6 separate regions of the Homo sapiens genome follow, and all the other regions are linked to region 6. The links are contacts of gene promoters, found by promoter capture Hi-C in blood cells and fetal thymus (Javierre and others, 2016). All regions are on one chromosome and are shown on one strand. Each heading gives the region's core, a stretch centred on a gene start or on the middle of the fragment in contact. The rest is flanking DNA. Distances are from core to core; before and after follow the strand shown. Region 1 overlaps SKAP1 (src kinase associated phosphoprotein 1). Region 2 overlaps SKAP1 (src kinase associated phosphoprotein 1). Region 3 overlaps SKAP1 (src kinase associated phosphoprotein 1). Region 4 overlaps SKAP1 (src kinase associated phosphoprotein 1). Region 5 overlaps SKAP1 (src kinase associated phosphoprotein 1). Region 6 holds the start of LINC02086 (long intergenic non-protein coding RNA 2086).

Region 1 (2,700 bases), core at 77-2,576, 380 kb after region 6:
AATTTGAGAATTCTGGGTTCAGTATGGCCCTTGCTTTGGAATTTTTACAGTTTGTTCCCCCATGACTCTGATCACTGCTACCAGGCCTGAGTTATGCTTCCTGCTGCTTACATTTAAAAGGTCACCAGGACAATGACTAGGTGACCGCCCATCACACAGTCTGTGAGTACATCCTCCAATAGCATCCTCAGCGTAAAACGCCCCCTACTGCTTCCAGGATGCCAGTTCACTAATAATTCTCAGGCCTTACTCCTAGCAACCAAACTAACCCTGTAGCTCCCAAGGATTCCTGCGTATATAAGGAGAGGGTAAAGGTTGGTGCCACATTTCTTTTTAAGGCTTTATAAGGCTCTATTCAGAGTGAGTCACAGGCATGTCACTCTTCTGTTGTTCACCAAAGCATAGATTCTTTACTGTCCACAGCATTAAAGCATGGCGTATTTTGAGAGATGGTTTTAAGTCATCCTTTCAACTAATTCAGATAAACATCCTTGCAGAGCATGGCATCAGAAATTTTCCAAAAATTGTCAAGGACTGACCCCTGCCCTCCTAGGACTTGCAGACTTAGGGGTCGTTCAGATCCAAACACAACTATAATAATTCTAATTCTAAAATGTGATAATTGCTATAATAGAAGTTTTTTTAAATACTGCAGGAGAGGGAGTGATTAAATTCACATCAGGGATTCCGAACAGCATTTTAGAGTATCTGGATTTTGAGGTGAATCTTAAAAGATGAACAGAAGAAGAATGTTCCAGGCAGGGGAACAGTAGTACTAAGAACGTGGCATTTGTTTTCACCAGGTTTCTTGCATCCCTTGACCACTTGGTTGCCTTTGTTGTTAAACTGTGTGTGTGTGGTTAACCAATTAAGGAAAGGAGAAAAGCTGATTCGAGATAGTCATGGTGTGAAAAAGCTTTGATCTGGACGTTTACCTTGATTTCTTTTCACGTGGTGATTCCGATATAAATAATGTCATTAACTTCCTTTTTTTCCATCTTACAACACATTTACCTGTTTCTTTCCATGTATATTGATACACACACACACCCCTCCAGTGTTTATTCTTGGGCATTTTCCAGTTTCTAATATGATGTCCACGAGTCAAATCAATTAAATTGAACCGATAATACAACTTAATGACCCTTCTTATCTTTGCAAGTAAACTTGAGAATGGAATGAATCTAAATGCCAACTCATTAACCTTGAAAGACAATTCAGGTGGTTTTATTCTAATGTTTCTAGTGTTTGTTTATAGTTGAGCACACTTTAAATATGTCTACATTGTTTAATAGCCTCTTGTACACAATTTTTTGATGGACTCAATTGATATTCTTCATTAAAGACCAGATCCTAATAAACTCATCTCCCTTACTCTTAAATTCACATTCAAACAGGAGATTTCTTAATGGCTTCTTAAAATGCTAAGTTACTAGTTTTAAATTTATGTATTTCATGCTGCTAGCCTCGGAGTTTCTTGTCCACATCAAATTCCTAATTATTTCTTTTAGATTTGTGGGAAACAATTGTCCAACACTTCTCTCTTTTCATTTTTTTCTAATTTTGTCATCCATGCTGCTCACTTTTCATGCTATGGTTGTCTTCATTAAGAGATTGGTGGGATTTTGGTCCCTAAAGACAAATAATTTATTAGCTCTTAATGGTGATCTGGAAGGTTACATTTCAGGAAATTATTTATTTTAGTATGTTTTTAACTTGTTTTTAAGGAAGCTTCCTCCTCCTTTTACATTTCCAACTGAGAAGGGCCATCCAGAAATGTCTCCACTGCCACCTACTTGCAGTTTGGAAATTTACATGCACCTGGCTTTTCAAATAAAGCTGACCTTTTTTCCTGCCAAGGCAAGATTACTGTCAAGAAAACTGTAGGTGGCATTGTGGATTCTCCTCATGTTTTTAAAGGCATGGGTTTTGTGAAGTTGCTAGAAAAACACCTACGTTATAGGATTTTTACTAACATTCGTAGCAACAGCTTTTTCTGTAAATGTATGTCTTCTTCTATGATAATTGTATTGCTGCAAATTATGTAGGTAACAGTCTAAGTGAAAATATCATTCCTAAATGCTTTATTCATATTTATATTCGAATTACATTGCTATAGTCATAATCCTTAATAATTTCTTATAAAGCACATTATATAATGCATTCATGATTACGCTATGGAAAGCTGTTACCTAACACATTGTAAAAGGCAGACATTTTAAAAAACAATGTATGTTCCTATTTAATACAGAGAGATGAGTTATCAGACACTGTGTGTATTTGTAATTTCATAAATAATAATAAGGTATGCATAAATGGCTCTTTAATACCCAATGTTATTATGTAGAGAAGAAAGTGAACTATTCTAATATAATAATAGATATGAGAATTTTGAATTATTTTTTCTTCTTATCGTAACAGTGACCACTCTTTGCCTAATGATTTCATTTTATTGCGAATCCTCTGCTTGAAAGCTTAAAGATTTGACATTGTTCTGCACTTTTAAAATATAGGTTATTCTGAAAATCCTAGCTTGAGTCATTTTTGCAGCATGTACTGTAGAGTCCCCCATTTTAAAAAATTACGGACATTCAAGCATCTGCCTAAAATTTTAATTGTTACCCAAACATCATCTACCTCATTTTTCTCAATTTTCATACAATATAACTAGACTCAATTTTAAGTATAGTTTGGAAAGTA
Region 2 (2,700 bases), core at 8-2,507, 340 kb after region 6:
CAATTCTTGAACCCAGGAGACGGAGGTTGCAGTGAGCCGAGATCACGCCACTGCACTCCAGCCTGGGTGACAGAGCGAGACTCCATCTCAAAAAAGAAAGAAAGAAAGAAATCTAGATTCAATTCAAATACTCATGGAGTCTCTACCATGTGCAATGCATAATGCTAGGTGCTGAAGGAATATAAAGATAGGTAATTGGGAATCTCCCTGAAAATTTATAATTTGTTGGATATTGGGCTGATGGGAAGGGTTGGTGGGAATAGAGAGGAAACAAAACAAGAAGATCTTTGCTCATCTTCCAAGGAGCAGTTTCAGTAGTCTACTAAAAACAAGCCTAGTTATTAGTGATCTTAGAGTGAGTGAGTACTCAGAAACTAGAGGCTGTGGGTATATGTTACCTAAAAAAAGTTGTTTGGTGAAAAGAATGAAAGGGATAAATGGTAGGAGGAGAGAGGAGCTTTTTGGTTATTTTGTTTTAGTTTTAGGAGAGGGGAGATCTGAGCTGATTTTCCAGCATATGAGAAAGAACCAGTCTAAAAGAGAAGATAATGGGTAGAATCAGGTCCTGGAAAGGTAGAAATGGGTCAGTCAATACTATACAAGAATCAGTCCTGGCTAACAGGCAGGGGACTCATTCCTTAGAGAAAGGAGTTAAAGGATAGAAGAGAATGAAGATACGGAGATATTTTTACTTGAAGGGAGGAGAAGGCAAAGCCATTTACTAAGAGTAAAAAGCCATGGAGCAGGGACTGGCCTAGAGCTTAGGGAGACTGGAAAGTGGAAGTTTAAGGCAGCCATTAAAGAGATGTGACAGGATTAAGAGAAAACACATTATTGTTAAGCAGTAATTAATATATACAGTGAGAACCATCTCAATCTATTCAACAAACATTAATCATTAAATAGAGAATTCATGGAGGAGCAAAATGCTAAAAGATTCTGATCCACTTCATTTTTAGGCTCACCCCTCATCACTCTCTCTTGGTATAATATGTGGTTAATAAATATAATATAGCCTCCAGACCATGGAAAATCACATGCAATCTCACACTGAGCTGTCTATCCCTTTGACACCAGGACCCAGTCCTGAAGAAGTATCACATTCACAGAAGCACAACAAAAGTAGGAATTTCTGTCCTCAAAAATACCTGTAGCCCATTTTACAAGGCAACTTCTCCTCCTTTTTCAAAATCCCCAGAACTCCCTGGAGCCTCTCACTCTCCTGTCCCAGAACTCTCTCACAGTCCCATGCCATTCTGCCCTGTCTCTCTTAATCCTTGAAGATATGGGGTGGAGACTGCTTCTTTGCTCCCTGTCTTCTACTGTCAACCTAAGTATCTTATTCTCCACATTCTCCCCATGCTGCATCACAAGGCCAAAACACTTGACTGAGAATGGCAGAGCCCTCCTTGGATGATGGTGAGCCTGGGAAGGACCTGAACTAGTGAAGCCAGAAACTCTTGAGCACACAGGGGAAATAATAAGCTAGGAACACTCATAGTTAAAAACAGTTTTCTCATAACACTGCAGCTTCATGACCTACACTTATTTTGAAGAGGATTTGAAACCATGACCTGAAATACTGAGCCTACCTTTCATCTTACCTCCTACATGTGAAACTCATGCCCCAAACCCCAGCCTCACAGGATTATTCATCATCATTCCGCAAACCCAGCCCTGTGCCTTCCACCTGGAGTGCCTTTCCCATCCTCCCATCCACCCACTCATCCTTCCAGGCCATGCTCAAACTCCCTCTTCTCTAGCTGGCTTCCTAGTTGCCCCAGGTTGGACTCAACCCCTTCCTGTCTTGCATTTTACTTGATCAGTTATCATAGCTGTTGCCTACCACCATTTACCTGCATTGTATTACATACACTGGCATCTCCAAAGGATTGTGGGCTGTCAGCACATATTAGACATTCAATAAATGTTTGTCAGATTGATCCCCTAAAATGTGATTGTATGATCCAGATTTTCAAATCACACACACACACACATACATATATATTCTGTCATATCCTAAAGAACTTTCAAAGAACCTTGAAATAATAGTAGTCTCCTGTTCTATACTGTGTCTTAATGTGCCACAGAGTGACAGCCTCCCCCTCTTCCCCCTTCAATGATATCTGGAGGTTTTCCTCCCTTAGACATCAGAAATACTGAAGGATGGAAAACACTATACCAGATAGATCCAAGATAAATGTTTACTTCCTTCAGTAGTCTAGCTTATGAGTATAAAGCCAAATGCTGGACAGTACATTGACACCACAAAGACAAAACGAAATAGACAGGAACTTTAGAAAAGGTAAAGGAGGCAGCCAATAAGGGCATGCTCCATTGTGTATGTTACAACTCAGGGAAGAGAAAATGGCAGCAAAACCAAATCTACATAAGAGTTTATATCCCTTTCACTACTGAAATATGGTTTATGCTGAAATGCCAACATTCTGTGATCACCCACATGAAATGAAAATGCTCATATTTATATGGTGCTTTTCGTCTAGAGAATCCCAAGGTGCTTTATAAATTATAAATACGAATGTTCCTTATGCAATGTCCCTGATATTCTCCATACACAAAATCCAGTTTCTGATGGTCAAAATTTCCCCCACGCCTGCCATACCACTGAATATTAAACATTTTTATCAGATCACAATTTTTTATCTTTACAAAAATCCACTGTATTAAAAGGTCTACAGT
Region 3 (2,700 bases), core at 129-2,628, 300 kb after region 6:
CCAAATAGAGTCTGTAGTTTAGTTAATAGCAATATACCAATGTTAATTTATTGGTTTTGGCAGATAGACCTCAATTATGTAAGAAGTTGACATTGGGGGAAACTGGGTGAAGGGTATGTAGGAACTCTGTACTATCTTTGCAACACTTACATAAATCTAAAATTATTCCAAAATAAAAAGTTCACTAAAAAAAAAAGCCCTTCCTGATCTGCATGTTTTTTAAAACACTTAGAATGTGAGCATGTACTTTTTTTCTTTCTTCTTTTCTTTCTTTTCTTTTTTTTTTTTTTTGAGGCAGGGCTCACTCTGTTGTCTAGGTTGGAGTGCAGTGGCACAGTCATGGCTCACTGCAGCTTTTACCTCCTTGGCTCAAACGATCCCCCCATGTCTCAGCCTCTCAAGTAGCTAGGACCACAGGCACAAGCCACCATGCCTGGCTAATTTTTCTACTTTTTGTAGAGATGGGGTATTGTCATGTTGCCCAGGCTGGTCTTGAACTCCTAGGCTCAAGCCATCCACCTGCCTTGGCCTCCCAAAGTGCTGGGATTATAGGTGTGAGCCACTGTGCCTGGCTAGGTTCTTTTTCTTTAATGGTGGATTTGCCACATTTTTGAAGCAAGCAGAGAACTTTAAGTCCAGAATAATAGTTTATACATAATGTTCAGTATATCCTACAAAAGTTAAATTTTGCTTGGCAATTCCAGTACTTTTTTTATTTTTAAGGATTTTTATTTGGCTTAAAATAAAAATTCCATTTAACCTTGCAGCTCACTTTCAGGTTACTAGCCAGGCAGTCCATTTAGATTGTGTTGATAATATAATTTTAGTGGACTTCCAGTGATGTAAAATTTGAGCATTTTAATCCTCAGTCCAGTATTTGAGAATTTTTCTGGTTACTATGGAAATTACACAGTGATGCTTTAAGCATAGCTATAAACTTTGTATACTGATAAGTAAACTAATAAAAGAGAGTATTTCTTCTGGCTTTGGCCAATGACTATTGTGTGAGTTTTCTACAATTTTTATTTCTCTTTTTCATAATAAACTTTATAGTTTATTTCTAAAGTCCTATATTTGTAGGTGTTCAACTCAGTTATGGACATCTACCTACCATACAGCATTTGAAGAAGAGTCTAGATATGATCATCTAATTTATGGAAAGAGAAAGCTACAGCCATTCTCTTTTTATCATTTTATAACCTCCCTGGCTTTCTAGTTTAATTGTAGGAAATAAACCTTTAAAGTGAGGCAATACAGATTCTATGTAGGTTGTTTGGTTTCACAGCTCCCTAGTTGAAATCCAAGGCCAAAACTCTACAGTATTTACTGAGATTAGCATTGGTGATTTCCTTTGGAAATTAGTATTTGAGATAATATTAAATTCAGTTGAAAATCCTATTTTCATGTTTGTGAAATGAAATAAGCAGCTGTCAGTGTCCTTTTATTAGCAGACTGTACCTCTATTTGGGGGATTTTAAGGAAAGCCATTTGCAATACAGAGCCTTTTCTTCCGGTTTCTGAATGAGCTAACATCTTCTGTCTGAACCTTTTAAAGTATCATAATAACATCAGTCACTTCTACAGAATACAATCCAATGTATATTGAAAACACACAAAAGAGATTAGCATTAATTGCATAATTCAGTATTGTATATACATTACCTTTTATCAAAGCCATTTTACAGGACAAATATTATCTTCTTAGGGCTTTTAGAATTCCTAAGAGGTCGGTTGCCTAGGCTGTAAACTAGAATTACAAAGAAAGAACTTTGTTAACGTTGCAGAACAAATAGGAATACAGTCCAGCAAAGTCTAGGTTTTCTCTATTTTTATAATACTTCTCTTACTTTTCAGAGAAAGACTATTGACCTTGCTATATTATATTATGTATAGAAGGTTAAACCTTTGGGTCAGTCCTATTTCATTTGAAATAGAGGCATGCAGGGTAAAGGTTGTAATTATTGGAGACATAGTATATATGAATATAAATTTAATTCTTTTTTTTTTTAGATGGAGTCTCGCTGTTGTCACCCAGGCCGGAGTGCAATGGTGCAATCTTGGCTCACTGCAACCTCTACCCCCCGGGTTCAAGCGATTCTCCTGCCCTAGCCTCCCAAGTAGCTGGGATTACAGGCGCCCACCACCACACCCTGCTAATTTTTGTATTTTTAGTGGAGAGAGGGTTTCACCATATTGGCCAGGCTGATCTTGAACTCCTGCCCTCAGGTGATCCGCCTGCCTGGGCCTCCCAAAGTGCTAGGATTACAGGCGTGACCCACCATGCCTGGCTGAATATAAATTTATATAGCTATGTTTTTATTTTAAGTATGATAGAGAAATTTCTTTCTGGTGGCAAGAGGTATTCCCACTATAAGCTAACAGTTCCTAAGTTTTAGTGAGAGAGTTACTTGAGTGGAAAATTTTTCATCCAGGTAAGTCAGTTCTTGAACCTATTTAACTGTTTCCTATATGTTAATGGATAGTGGCCATGTTCATCATCCAGTAAAAGATACACTTTTTTTTCGAATACTGGAAGAGATCATACATAGATCCTTTTATAAGGATGTATCCTTTTATAAGGATGCCCAAAGATTAACCTTATTTTCTGTCTTTTTTGTCCCTCAGGGGGAGACATTGGACAGGACAGCTCTGATGATAATCACAGCGGGACTCTTGGCCTGTCCCTCACATCCGATGCAC
Region 4 (2,700 bases), core at 35-2,534, 360 kb after region 6:
GTGGATGGCATTTTGTAGTTATTGTTCCCTCAGATGGGTGGGTTTGCATTTATCAGAGGAGCACAAAAATGTGCAATTTTCCTTACCAAAAAAAAAGGGCAGTTTCTTTTTTTCTTTTCTTTCTTTTTTTTTTGAGACCAGATCTTGCTCTGTCACTGAGGCAGCAGCAGTGCAGCGAGACGACCTTGGCTCACTGCAACCTTGACCTCCTAGGCTCAAGCAATCCTCTCACCTCAGCCTACTAAGTAGCTGAGACTACAGGCGTACACCACAATGCTTGGCTGACTTTTTACTTTTTCGTAGAGCTGAGGTCCCACTATGTTGCCCAGGCTGGTCTTGAACTCTTGGGCTCAAGCAATCCTCCTGCCTTGGCCTCCCAAAGTGCTGAGATTACAGGCATGAGTCACCTTGCCCAGCCAAAAGCAGTTTCTTAGTTTTGATAGTTATACTGTGGTTATGCAATATGTTAGCTTTGAGGGAACAGGGTGAAGGATAGATGAGAACTCTGTACTATTTTTGCAACTTTTCTGAAAACTTAAAATTATTTCAAAGTACAAAGTTAAAAAAAATAAGGCATTAGTTTGGGTAGAGGTGAGGAATGAATGGAGGAAAATAGAGGAAACAGAATTGGCCATGAGTTGATAATTGTTGAAGCTGGATGATAGCTACAGGAGGTTCATTACATTATTTTCTATACATTTGTACATGTTTAAACTTTTTATAATTTCTTAATCTAATAAAATGAAACAGAAAGGCATAAAAGAAAGTATTAAGTGCAGTTCAACTTTGGGTAAACATAAGAATTTTCCAAATGATATTGTTAGCTGAGACAAACTTATATTATTTTGGGATTTCTGTTTTCTTTACCATTCTTATCGGTGCATGAAGAATCAAGTAAATGCTTGTGTGATTTTTTTAACTGTAGAATATGTACTCTTAGTTACACTTAGCTGTTGTTCTTCAGGTTTTCCTTATTGCTGCAGTACTAAAAATATATGCATTAGATAAACTAGGATTTTTAAAAAGTTGTCTTGCCTGTCCATAAACTAGTAAATATTAATATTTATTTTTTGTCTGTTTTTGTTTTATTGTTTTTCTAAACAATATGAGTATGAGGGCATGCCTAATGGCATATATTTTCTCATTGATTTTATAATAAACTTATACTGTTCCAAAGATAATAAATTATACTAGATCAACACTTATGGGTAAGAGAAGTTTTCAGTGCCATGTTAAAACTTAAGCCATGGATCACTAGATGGTGGCCACAGTGTTAATTTCTTATTTTCTAAACCTCTCCTTTTAAAGATACCTAAATTAGATTTTCCTTACAAGTAAATTCCCTTAATTTGTTTGGAAATATAAAGGTTTTTCTTTAAAGCACAATTTGAAAGCACGCTGCCTCTGCCTGCCAGCCTAAATGAGCAGCATTTGATGTGCGATCAGGCAGTCTCCACTTGGAGAGCATCACAGGCACTAGGAGCAGTGAGAAGAACCCCATCAGGGAGTGCCATGACAATGACAAAGAGCTTCATGGTTTCTTATTGGGCACCAGTAGACTGAAGTGCTTTAAAACTTGAGCTCTGGGCCAGGTGCAGTGACTCACGCCTGTAATTCTAGCACTTTGAGAGGCCGAGGTGGGTGGATCACGAGGTCAGGAGATCAAGACCATCCTGGCCAACATGGTGAAAACCCATCTCTACTAAAATACAAAAAATTAGCCGGGCATGGTGGCATGTGCCTGTAATCCCAGCTACTTGGGAGGCTGAGGCAGGGGTATCGCTTGAACTCAGGAGGCAGAGATTGCAGTGAGCCAAGATCACGCCACTGCACTCCAGCCTGGCAACAGAACAAGACTCCATCTCAAAAAATAAAAAATAAATAAAAATAAAAAAGTAAAAAAACCTGAGCTCTGGGTTTAGACTGCCTAAGTCTGAGTACAGGTTCTGCCTTGAGTGTTTATAACAGCTTTATTCACTGAAACTGAAAAGAACCCAAGTATCCATCAACTGGTGAGTAGATAAACAAATTGTGTTTCTATTCAGCAATAAAAAGGGATAAACTACTGATACACACAACTACATGGATGAATCTTAAAGGTTTTATGCTAATTAAAGAAAGCCAGACATAAAATATTAGATACTATATGATTTCATGTATTTGACATCCCTAAAAAGTCAAAGCTATAGACACAAAAATAGATCAATGATTGGCAAGGCCAGTGATAGAAAGAGTGGATTGACTACAAAGGGGCAAAAAGGAGCTTTTCAGAGTGATGGAAATATTCTATATCTTGATTTGGTAGTGGTTATACAACTACTATATATATATGTATATATTTGTCAAAATTCATTAAACTGTACATTTAAAAAGAATTGTGTTTTTTGTGTGTCATTTTTTGTTGTTGTTTTTTGTTTGTTTTTGAGACAGAGTCTCACTCTGTCACCCAGGCTGGAGTGCAGCCTGTCATCCAGGCTGGAGTGCAGATCTCGGCTCACTGCAACCTCTGCCTCCCAGGTTCAAGTGATTCTCCTGCCTCAGCCTCCCAAGTAGCTGGAATTACAGGCGCCCACCACCACAGCCAGCTGATTTTTGTATTTTTAGTAGAGACGGCGTTTCACCATGTTGTACCATGCTGGTCTCAAACTCCTGACCTCAGGTGAATCCTCCCACCTCTGCCTCCCAAAATGCTGAGATTCC
Region 5 (2,700 bases), core at 27-2,526, 320 kb after region 6:
AAGCCCAAAACCTCATGTATTCAAAAGTTATTCTTACTGTTATGTGTACTTCTTTAAAGGTTCATTTCTCCTTTTTGTTTCCACTTCAAGAAGGTTATTTACATTAAGTTGGGAATTCTCGAGCCTTTGAATAAACTGAAGCTAATAATAGAAATATTAATTTTTAAGAAAGCAAATATTGTTTTTCCCTGAAGCAAGGTCTTGCTCTGTCTTGCCCAGGCTAAACAGTGGTGCAATCATGACTCACTGCAGCCTCAACCTCCCATGCTCCAAGCGATCCTCCCACCTCAGCCTCCAGACTAGCTGGGACTATAGGCACATGCCATGCCTGGCTAATTTTTAATTTTTTTTGTAGAAATGAAGTCTCACTATGTTGCCCAGGCTGGTCTTGAACTCCTGGCCTCAAGCAGTCTTCCTGCCGTGGCCTCCCAAAGTGCTGGAATTACAGATGTGAGCCACCATGCCCAGTCACAGAAAGCAAAGATTTTTAAAAGGACAGTTACAAATACAAATACAACCATTTGTATTATCCCTACATTATTCCAAACACATGAGAGCCTAATTGTGACGGTGATGACAGCAAATTGTGTAAGTAGCTTAGTGTGTCAGAAAAGCCAAGTGAATGAAAATATCAGTCTTGATGTAATTATAAGTGGGACCTCTTAAGTGGGCCACCCAGCGTGAAATCAAAGTGAGCCAGCCTCCTGCTTTGGGTATAAGATAATTGCCCTCTGAGGTCAAAAAGAAATGATGTTCTTGATATAGTATTGCACCATTAGGTGTATTATTGAATTTGGGTTGGTGAGAGTAGAGCTTTTCTCTGAAACATCTGTTTGCTGTCAGGGCAGCATGGCAAAAGGGATGGACCAGTGGTCTGTTTCAACATGGCAATTCTTGCAAAAGAATGTAGAAATATGAATGTCTTCCTAGGGGCTTATGGGCTTATGAATTATGGTGCTTTACATGAAATCTAAAAATCAGTGGTATTGTTCATGTGTCATAATGAAAGTTTATTTGCGCTTTTCTGGTGTCATTAAGTCTTTTTACAGTATTACACTTTCTAAATCTTTTCATTTTATTGATACTTCTGTTTTGCATTATTTTTCTCTCATACCTGTTGATTGCATTTTTTTCTTGATTTAACTCCATTTTATTTTATTCTTGAAGTACTTCAGTTTCTACCTCTACCCTTTGATTGCTTCTCTGTTTTTGCTGATTTTTGTATGATGCCTTCTAACTTAATGTCTCATGAGAGTTTAATATTTGTTCTAGTTTCAGCCATTGATAAGCATAAAACACATATCCATCCTGAAAAACTCAACTAGATTCTTATTTGAATTATTTCAGACCTCGAAGTGACCTGAAGTTACTTCAGTTCCTTTTGTTTACAGATAAAGATACTAAGATGTAGAAATGTTAAGCAACTTGCCTATTATCATTTGTTTTCAAGTTTTATTTAACTTTTGGTACATGAAAATTATTCATATCCAAGTATATTTATTTCAAAAGGAAATTTTTATGAACATTTTATATGACCAGCTTACTGGTCTAAGTATAGAATTATGCTTTGCTAGTCCAAACCTTTGAGCACTTTCATTTCTTCATCTTTAAAATTGTTCCTATTACATAACTTGATTTCTTAATTTAATTCAATTTTTAAAACGTTTAATGCCATGTTTGTGATAGTTCTACTTCTGTTTGGGAATTGACCCCTAAAAAAGAAATGAAGGTCAACTGATCATCATTTAAGTTTAGTCTTTATTTTATGTTCGTCTTTTTTATATCAACATTGAGATACTTTTTTTCCTCAATTATCATACAAGGGATTGGTGATTTTTCATAGGTTTATTTCCATTGGGAGTCCCTTCTCTTCATTCAGCCTTGTCAACAGATGAATGCCCATGAACATCCGTCTGAGCATAGAGTCAAGGATCATCATTCAGTATGGCTCGGAGAGGCTGGCACTTTTCGCTCCTGCATGAGCATCTGGGCCTCAGATTGTCATGGCCAGGATGTGACTGTCAGCCCTGCCCATGATCCAGGGGCTGGATACCTGCCACATGTTGGATGTGATAAGGGAGAAGATGAAGGATCAGATTGGGATTTTTTTCCACAAAGGCTACTAGGGGAGATAAGATCTGTATGAAATAAGAATGGTATAAAAGAAATAGTGATAGATACCATAAGGCAGATATGGTTTCAGTGTTATGCAAGTTGGGGAAAGAGAGAGCTGATTTTTAGCAGTCTGATCAATAGCTCATCTTAGCGTGGTGGTCTCTGTCATGTGAACATTCTTTTGAGGTTCATATTCAAATGAACATTAGGTGGAATGTCTGCCAATTGCTTTGACTATTCTTCATCTATTCATTTATCATTGAGGACCTACTATGTGCACGACCTTAGACTAGTACTGGGGACACAGAGACGAAGTTGACAAAACCCTTAGCCACATAGAGCTCATATTTTACTGGGGCCGATATGTTATATAATGTCAAGCCATGGTAAATGGTCTGAAACTAAACACAACAAAAAAGACTGAAAGGCAGAGAGAGAATGACTAAAAAGGGTGACAGTAGATCTCTTTGAGAACAGGGTGATCAGAGGAGGCCTCTGAGCAGAAAACTGAATGAAATGAGAGATCAAGCCATGGGTTGATCTAAGGGACGAGCATTCCAGACACAGGGAATAGCAGATGCAAAG
Region 6 (2,700 bases), core at 121-2,620:
TGGGGGTCCAGCACTAAATGTCTAGAGAGCTAGATCTGGGGCCTCTCACCCCCTTTCCTCATATACCTCCTCTTGCTTCCTTCCCCTCCCAGGGCTTCTCAGAAAGTGACAGCTGACTTCCTTTTAGAACTGTGAAATCCCACAATTTCAGAGGATTTCAAATTCCTTGAACTTCAGGTTGAGAGCTATTTGGATTAATCAGAGAAGTTTGTGTCTGGAAAATGATGCCAGATTTAGCCAGAAAACTGAAAGACCAAATGCTTTACTTTTTTTTTCCTTTGTCTGATCTCAGTGCTTATCAGGTCAACCTTCACCTTTAAAAACACCCTGGTGGCAGTATTTCTTTGCCATCACTGTCTGTAAAGCAAAGGGCAAGCATCTCAGGGCTTTTAGTTGGGCCGGGAATTCAAATGTCTCCTTTCTCAAGAAGATGCCAAAGTGGCCACCCTCAGCCCACTTTCCGTCCTTACCTCCTCTGCCCTTTCCCCAGCTGTAGTTATAGGAATAATGGCCTTTAACTTGCAGAGATCATTAAGGCCAAAGCCCTCACTCCTTCCCATCTCTCCTCTTGGGGCCGTCTGAGTCGCTTCCTCCACGACCCTCCTCTTTTGAAGCACTCCCTAGTACTGTTAAAGGCCGAATTTGGGCTGGAGCGAAGATGGGGGCTCAGTCCAAAATAACCTAGATATTAAGTAATAGTAATGATTTTTTTAAAAGGTAACTATGAACTCTCAAGCCTCGACCACCCAGTAAAGTTCCTCCTTAAATTGTTGCCGGCCCTGGGTGCAGACACGCAAGGACTGGCCAGAACGCGAGAAACTTCTTCAAGGAGAGAGAAGTCAGGGCCCAAATTCCTCATGCTTTAAAGCAGTATAAGAGGAGAGAGTCCAAATTTTTACTCGTTAAACCTCCTCTTACCTCTTCCTCAGGTCTGTTCACTCCTTGGTCCAGGGACCGGAGCTCCTGGGCTTCGAGGTGAACCAGAGGGAACGTGGCTCCCCGCAGCAACCTTTTTGCTTCAGGGCTCCTCCTGGGGGCTGAGTGGTCCCCTTTGCTTTGCTATTCCCGCTGCGGCTCCTGGGGGGACAGCTCCGTGGGACCAGGTCTCTCAGGGGGTGGAGGGTCGCCGAAGTCGTGACCAGGAGTTGGAGACCGCTGCGTCCCTCCGCTGCGGACCTGCCTGGGACTGCGTGGAATGGACCAAGTCCTCCGTCTAGGATTCCCTAGTGCTCGACGGCGCGCACTCCGCAGTGCTCCGCTGGAGATCTGCACCTGTGTCCCGGGGCTGGGCGCAGAGTGAAGATCTCCGTGCACGCTGCTGACCGGCTCGGCGACTGCCTCCCTGCTGTGAGCAGGAGAACAGGAAGTCTGCCCGACAGGGAGGTGGCCGGGCGGGAGCGGCAGAGTCGGCGTTGAGAGGAGGGTCAGCTGCACCTCGGGATTCCGCGCGCCTTCAACTCCCTCTTGCGGACAGCCCAGCCGCGGGTTGGCGCCGCAGTGATGGAACCTGGGGAGGGCCTAGCTTAGAGTCCCAGCAGTCCAGAGGAGGGGACCAGAGCAGAGGATTAGGAACGGGGCTTTCATATCCAGCCTAGGCGCCCAGAAGCGGCACTTAAGGGGCGAAGGGAGGCCGCAATTACAAAGGTGCGCCCTCCGACGCCTCAACGTCAAGGGCCTGTAGATTCACAACCTCCTCTGTCGGGGATGGGGGAAGATGAGGTGGGATAGGGAGGCTATGTCCAGCCACCAGCGCAGGGAGTGGCTCTAAACGCTGACCCAACGCCTCGCCCCAAGCGGGATCTTGGCGCGCAGATAGACCGAGCCCGTGGTGGGGCGCCATGCCGGGCTCCCTCGCCCTTACCGAGTGAGCATCTTCTTCCCAATTTGCTGCTCAGAGAGGGAGTGGGTCCTAGTCTCTGGATCTCAGCGCTCACGACTACCTCGCTGCTCCTAACGAACGGTTCATCTGCTCTCTCCTGGCCGCCTGCGCCAGCGCCGCTCACCCACTTTTCCAGCCCTGGATCTCCTCTCCCCGGATGCGTCCTTCCTTCCCACAATTAACAAATGATCTAGCGAAACCCCGCCAGGTCCCCGGCAGAGAAGCACCTCCATCCGCCCTAACCAACCAATTAATCAGATCATTAAGGAGCCTGAGGAGTTGTAATTGGGTGGTTTGGGACGAGGGGGCGCTGAGGAGGTCATTAACCTCCCCGTAAAGATGGGGAACGGAGACGCGCCTGGCCGCCTCTGCCGCCCCTGCCGCCCCTGCCGCCCCTGTGGGCTCTTCTTAGCACGCGGGTTTTGGCCACTCCACCTGCCTGCTGCGCTCCAGTTCCCGCCTCCAGTCCAGCTATTTCACTTCTCTCTTTGTCATTCTCCGTCTTTTCTCTGGCAACCGTCCAGGGCCCCTTTCTTTGTGCCTACTTCTGTCTACCTGTCCAGCTGCCTCTTGCACCCTTTCTGTGGCCCAGCGGCCAAGAAAACTCAAAGGTCATGGCTGTTGGCCCCCGCTGATGATCTCTGGGCTCCCGGGTCTCAGACAATTCCTCAGGGCTGGCTAGAAATGGTGGGAGCTGGAGATTTGGACACTATACCCATTCCCCAAGAGAAGGGCATTTGCAAAGGGGAAGTGTTTCCTGAAACGTTCAATTCTCTTTCGGTATGAGATAGCTTTGGACAAGGTGACAAATGGCGGAAGGT

What was found. Contacts are between HindIII fragments. The CHiCAGO score rates a contact against its expected background, and 5 or more counts as called.
Region 1: a contact is called between a fragment that was not itself captured here and the fragment with the promoter of LINC02086 in region 6, in 8 of 17 cell types (M2 macrophages, megakaryocytes, M1 macrophages and 5 more). The highest score is 12.2, in M2 macrophages.
Region 2: a fragment that was not itself captured here is called in contact with the fragment with the promoter of LINC02086 in region 6 in 1 of 17 cell types (M2 macrophages); the score reaches 5.6 in M2 macrophages.
Region 3: a fragment that was not itself captured here is called in contact with the fragment with the promoter of LINC02086 in region 6 in 2 of 17 cell types (M2 macrophages and endothelial precursors); the score reaches 6.5 in M2 macrophages.
Region 4: a fragment that was not itself captured here is called in contact with the fragment with the promoter of LINC02086 in region 6 in 4 of 17 cell types (M2 macrophages, M1 macrophages, erythroblasts and 1 more); the score reaches 9.8 in M2 macrophages.
Region 5: a fragment that was not itself captured here is called in contact with the fragment with the promoter of LINC02086 in region 6 in 5 of 17 cell types (M2 macrophages, M1 macrophages, erythroblasts and 2 more); the score reaches 7.0 in M2 macrophages.

Annotation. Positions count from the first base shown.
Region 1 is chr17:48,258,981-48,261,680 of GRCh38, reverse strand. The region is part of intron 4 of SKAP1 (src kinase associated phosphoprotein 1); the gene reads left to right. Among named protein-coding and RNA genes, the nearest start is that of SKAP1-AS2, 34 kb to the left of the region's middle. The HindIII fragment of the contact is 815 bases long and covers 919-1,733 here.
Region 2 is chr17:48,298,868-48,301,567 of GRCh38, reverse strand. All of the region lies in intron 4 of SKAP1 (src kinase associated phosphoprotein 1), which reads left to right. All of the region lies in intron 1 of SKAP1-AS2 (SKAP1 antisense RNA 2), which reads right to left. Among named protein-coding and RNA genes, the nearest start is that of SKAP1-AS2, 5.9 kb to the right of the region's middle. RefSeq lists an enhancer at 1,383-1,472. The HindIII fragment of the contact is 9,512 bases long and covers 1-2,700 here.
Region 3 is chr17:48,345,932-48,348,631 of GRCh38, reverse strand. SKAP1 (src kinase associated phosphoprotein 1) reads left to right here. Exons shown (of 13, transcript NM_003726.4): 4 at 2,626-2,700. Among named protein-coding and RNA genes, the nearest start is that of SKAP1-AS2, 53 kb to the right of the region's middle. The HindIII fragment of the contact is 3,432 bases long and covers 1-2,700 here.
Region 4 is chr17:48,280,210-48,282,909 of GRCh38, reverse strand. All of the region lies in intron 4 of SKAP1 (src kinase associated phosphoprotein 1), which reads left to right. Among named protein-coding and RNA genes, the nearest start is that of SKAP1-AS2, 13 kb to the left of the region's middle. The HindIII fragment of the contact is 3,099 bases long and covers 1-2,700 here.
Region 5 is chr17:48,316,354-48,319,053 of GRCh38, reverse strand. The region is part of intron 4 of SKAP1 (src kinase associated phosphoprotein 1); the gene reads left to right. Among named protein-coding and RNA genes, the nearest start is that of SKAP1-AS2, 23 kb to the right of the region's middle. The HindIII fragment of the contact is 4,284 bases long and covers 1-2,700 here.
Region 6 is chr17:48,641,297-48,643,996 of GRCh38, reverse strand. It overlaps LINC02086 (long intergenic non-protein coding RNA 2086), which reads right to left and starts at 1,370. Exons shown (of 8, transcript NR_189645.1): 1 at 1-1,370. The region is part of intron 1 of LINC03057 (long intergenic non-protein coding RNA 3057); the gene reads left to right. RefSeq lists enhancers at 776-1,772, 1,773-2,700. The HindIII fragment of the contact is 12,737 bases long and covers 1-2,700 here.